2 separate regions of the Homo sapiens genome follow, and region 2 is linked to region 1. Evidence: promoter capture Hi-C in human tissues and cell types (Jung and others, 2019). All regions are on one chromosome and are shown on one strand. Each heading gives the region's core, a stretch centred on a gene start or on the middle of the fragment in contact. The rest is flanking DNA. Distances are from core to core; before and after follow the strand shown.

What was found. The method cuts DNA at HindIII sites, captures the fragments that hold promoters and counts their contacts. A contact is called where the count stands out against the background at its distance.
Region 2: a contact is called between a fragment that was not itself captured here and the fragment with the promoter of VAMP1 in region 1, in 1 of the 25 tissues and cell types used here (mesenchymal stem cells).

The regions. Positions count from the first base shown.
Region 1 is chr12:6,469,399-6,471,966 of GRCh38, forward strand. VAMP1 (vesicle associated membrane protein 1) reads right to left here and starts at 1,279. Exons shown (of 5, transcript NM_014231.5): 1 at 1,132-1,279. The coding sequence starts at 1,133. It also overlaps a transcript of TAPBPL not described here. RefSeq lists silencers at 761-810, 1,311-1,360, 1,571-1,830. The HindIII fragment of the contact is 3,078 bases long and covers 1-2,320 here.
Region 2 is chr12:6,091,696-6,094,263 of GRCh38, forward strand. All of the region lies in intron 6 of VWF (von Willebrand factor), which reads right to left. Among named protein-coding and RNA genes, the nearest start is that of VWF, 32 kb to the right of the region's middle. RefSeq lists enhancers at 1,547-2,143, 2,144-2,568. The HindIII fragment of the contact is 7,255 bases long and covers 1-2,568 here.

The DNA of each region.
Region 1 (2,568 bases), core at 29-2,528:
CTGGAAGCCCCCTCCCCAAAATGAAAACAACTGGAATTCTACGGCTTGCCCAAAATGCATAGAACACTCATATCTGGTTAAAACCATAGAAATCAAAAAGAAAAAGTGAAATGGCTATGAAGTATTTGCAAGGCCAATTTCACTTACTACTTGTTGGGAGTTGGAAACACTCAACAGTAAAATATCTAGGGATAATTACAACCCTTATGTAACACAAGTAAATCTTTCCCTTTTTTGTCACTTAGAGAAGCAACATAAATACATCTAGGACCAGGCCAGGGTAGTAATCAGAAAGAAAAATCTGTATTAGACATATTGAGGTCTTGACAGAGAAGTACTTCGTTTGTTTAGCCGTAGTTTTCCCTCAAGATCATGCGAAGGGGGTGATGTTGAAGACTGCTGGAGACTAAACTGTGTGTGTTGGAGGAAAGGGGGAAAGCTCAGCTCTCCCTATTTCTCCTCCAACTATTTGGTAAGACTCGGTGATAGAAAAACATCTCCTATACGAATGGCCTTGGTATGAACAGCCGCTTGGGATGACAGGCCACTATCCCACTACCCCTTGAGTCTTTCTGAGCTGCTCACCTGGTGCCAGAGAACTGGCAGATAAGTTTCTGCAGCTTTGCTCACTGCCATGAGGGGGGCTAGACATCACACTTTGGGTGAGGGGTAAACAAATCCAGAGATTGTAGGGCAACATAAGTTACCAACTGGCAGTTGCACCCATGACTGTCTTTCCTGAGGCGCTGAGTAGTGATTTAGCCAGATGACAGAAATACCTTTCGAGTCCCCTGCCCAGTTGTCTCCATCCACCACCCCCAGCCCCCGCCCTCTCCGAGTCTCCACTATACCAAAACCAGAATGAGGCGCCACTCAGACGAGAGGAGAGGGTGCAATGATTGTGGGACCCCTGCGCCCCTGCCCCGCCCGTGGGGTGCTAGCTGTGGCTGGTGCGAGAATGGGGTGCTGGCCCCCCTCCCTGGGGGTGGCCCGGTCCGGAAGCGGCGCGCGGTGGTAGTTCCCCGCGTTGCTGCAGCTGCTGCATTGCGCCATTTTCCGTCCCGCAGAATCGGGAGCTTGGGGCGAGAGTTGTCAAGGAGGTGCCGAGCCCCCACACCAGAGTCAACTCACATTTTTCTGACAGAGAGAGTGAGGGTCTGTTCCTCTCCGGAGGCTGCGGCGAGACACCCGGTGAGGGACGCTGCGGCTGAAGTGGACGGAACTGCCAAGCTCCGCCTCGCGCCGACTACCCCGCGGTCTAGCTGCGCTGGAACTTACTGCAGCTGCCGCGCCGGCCTCCGCCTTTATTAGTGCTGACCACGCCTCCCGGATAACGGTGACAACCCCGCGGCCCAATCCATGCCCAGGACGGTCGCCCAGCGCTACAGGCCTAGCCCGCCCCGCCCCTGCCAATTGCCAGTCACAACTCTCCTCTCATCCGACTCCGGAAAGGAGCGGTTGCTGTGAGGATCCTTCAGTGATCAATGCGACCATAGTTTGCGCTCCAGTCTGGCGGAGGGACGGGGCGGGGTGGAGATGAGGTCTGTCCCTTCGGAGGGCGCTTCAGCAGTTTGTTAGGCATTTGTGGTGCCTCCCAACCAATCGCTAGGCAGTTACTGAAGACCGTGCCCGCCCCTGCCCCACCCCGCGCCGGGACTCGCGCATTCAGCTGGAGGCGGCGGCTTCCTGGTGCGCGCCCAGCCCTGGTGCCCTGCTCTGGCCCTCGCTCCGCACCACCGCCCCGCCTCTAACTAACGCTCTGAGAGGGTGCAGGAGCCTCGAGACACAGCCACAAGCTCCTGGTGCCAGATACCGGATGCGGGGTTCCGTCCCACCAAAGCAAGCACGAAGCTTTCGTTCATTCGTTTCTTTCAACATAGCCTTCCTAAATTGAACTCCCTCCCAAACCTGCTCCAGTCGAGGTTACCACATCGACTCAGTTGCCCAGACCAGAAACGTGGAAACCATCCTAGATTTCCTCCCCTTCACCTTTACCTCTCCCCCAGTAATCTGCCAAATCGAGTTGATTTTTCCTTCTTGGCATTCCAGTGATTATCTCCCCTCTGCTCACTATTATCCCTTTCCTGGACTCCATCAGTTGGAAAATTCACCATTATTTTATGTCCCGCTAAGAAAAAAGGTTACAAGGCCGGGCGCAGTGGCTCACACCTGTAATCCCAGCACTTTGGGAGGCCGAGTCAGGCAGATTACCTGAGATCAGGAGTTCGAGACCAGCCTGGCCAACATGGCGAAACCTCTGTCTCTACTAAAAATACAAAACAGCCAGGCATGGTGGCGGGCGCCTGTAATCCCAGCTACTCGTGAGGCTGAGATAAGAGAATCGCTTGAAGCCGGGAGCCGACGGTTGCAGTGAGCCGAGATCACGCCACTGCACTCCAGCCTGGGCAACAGAGCAAGACCCTGTTTCAAAAAAAAAAAGAAAAAAGGTTGCAAATTATCTGTGACAAATGCTTTCCTTACCACTTAGCATTTTTGTTTTACATGTATTGAAAATATGGGTTTATATACATACCGATTTCTATATTTCACTCTTGTGCATGCATAAAA
Region 2 (2,568 bases), core at 34-2,533, 380 kb before region 1:
ACCGCACCAGGCTAATAAAGGGTTTTAGAACTTAAAGAAACCTTAAGAACCTGCAAAGCCCAACTCCCCAAGAGAAACACAAGGGCCCACTGGTAGAAATAACTTGAGTAGCCTGAACCAATGTGACCCGAACAGGAAAGGGAGGGAGCCAGGCAGGGCATGAGTCCTGGCTCTGCACCTTGCTAGCTGGCGACTTGGGGCAGCTACTTAACCTCCTATGGCTTGTTTTCTCATGGGATGAACAAAATCACAGAGCACCTGCCCTACTGCTCTGCTGATGGGCTGCGCACTCGGGTGACTGCAGCATGCACTCACGCTCTGCAGAGTGGCCCATGCCCAGACAAAGGCAACTGTGGCCTGTCGCGTCCATCATGACCATGGTCCTGGGTATAGGCAGGGGCCACCCTCTTTGTGCATGTTTGTAGGTTTTCAGAAAAAAATAAAATCCTAAGCCCCCCTACCGACTAAACGGACTCCCCCTTGGCCAAAGGGACCCCAGAGAAATATTAAAACTGAGTTCCTGGCCATGATAGGATGGGAGGTTGAACACCCCTCCTTATACCCTCTCCCTCGCTAACCACCATTAGACTTTCTTTCCTAAGAGTTAAACAGAACTGGCCCAGCAGGGACTCCCTTCCCTTTTTGCGGGTTTTTTTTTTTCTTTTGAGACAGGGTCTCACATTTTCACCCAGGCTGGAGTGTAGTGATGCAATCTCAACTCACTGCAGCTTCTGCCTCCCAGGTTCAAGCCATCTTCCCACCTCAGCCCTCCCATTAGCTGGGATTACTGGTGCACCACCATGCCCAGCTAGTATGTGTTTGTCTGTGTGTGTGTGTGTGCACGCGCGTGTGCCACCATGCCCAGCTAGTGTGTGTGCGTGCGTGCATGCCACCATGCCCAGCTAGTTAGTGAGTGAGTGAGAGTGTGTGTGTGTGTGTGTGTGTGTGTGTGTGTGTGTGTGTGTGTGTGTGTGTGTGCTGACCAGCATTCCTTCCTGGTAAGAGACCACCAACCACGGAATGGTTCTGGCTGATTTACAGAGGCTGTGCACAAGATGCCTCTGTGTCCTCCATTTCACCTTTTGACCTATAGAGGCTAATTTTAATGCATTTAAATGTTAAGTCTCCATCCCAAAATGAATGTGGGACATATGTAACATGTATGTTTGCTTACTGTATATGCAAATGCCTCCTCCCATTATGAATATTCATAGCTCCTCCCATAACCTGTTAAATATGTACACTGAGCCAACCCTTTTGGAATAAGTTTCTATTCCACCCCTTTCTCCCTTGAAGTGCCTGCTTTCAGTTTCTACCAGAGGCTACACTTCCCAGCCTGCAGGATGGCCAGCCTGCAGGCCACAACTCTGAATAAGAAAAGCTCTCCTCTCTAAGTTTATGAACCTTGTGATTCTTCAGTTGACATTTTTGACAGTGTGGTTGCTCTCTGGATAAGGGCAGGAAGGTGGTGCTGTCAAGCAGAGCAGCTTTGTAGAGGGTGTCGGGGCACAGCGTAGGTGTCGGGGCACAGCGTAGGTGCCCATTCAGAGCCCGAGGACTCATCCACCAGCTGTCCAGTGTTGGCTGCCAAGGGCTCACCACTGAGTCATTCCTCAGGAATGGCCCTCAGCCCAAGGGAGTTCCACCTCCTTACCCAGGGCAGCCCACATCCAGTGACCAACAGGGGCCACTCCACCTTCCAGAGCTCCTTGAAGGATCAGCTGAGGCCCCGCTGAAGCTCTATCAGTGCTATCACAAGCAGTTCAACTTCTCCCACTGCCCAACTCTGCTTCTCTCACTTCCTAACCAAGGCTGCTCGAGAGCTCCCCAGTAAACCTCCTGCATACAAACGTCCCGCCCAGGGAGGCTGACTCACAGCACCACCAAGGAACCTTGCTCCTCAGATGATGAGTCTCTGAGCACAATCCCAAAAGGGCAACAACCCCTGTTCCCCACAGGAGTCCAGCTTCACAGCTGCACCTACCTCCTCAGCCCAAGTCAGCCTGTTCCACAGTGGGGAGGGAATTACCCATTGAGTGAGGTCTTGCCCCACATAAAGCATTCTTGCCCCAAACACCCACACACAGAGAGGCACAAAGACCATCTTTACCTGTGGCAGGTGAAGGCAGAGTGTGGTCTGGCCACCCCTCCCCACCTCCCCTTCTCTCCAGTGTGAGGTCCTGGTGAGTGAGATCATGAATGGCAACTCTGATGCAGACAGAGCTGCTACAAGGCTACCTTGTAAGTGGCAACAGGGCTCTGTGGAAGGGGTGGGGCAGTCCTCCCAGCCTTGTCAGGGTTGGCAGGCATTAGCACACACAGGAGAGGAGAAGGCCATGTGACCACAGAGGCAGAAATTGAAGTCATGAGCCCAAAGACAGGGAATGCCGCTGCCACCCAAAAATGACGGAAGCAAGGACCTAGAGCCTCTGGAAGGAGCAAAGCCAGCCAACACCTTGATCTCAGCCCAGGGAAACTAAATTTGGACCTCCAGCCTCCAGAACTGGGAGAAAATAAATGCCTACTGTTTTAAGCCATTGAGTATGAGATAATTTGTTACAGCAGCTT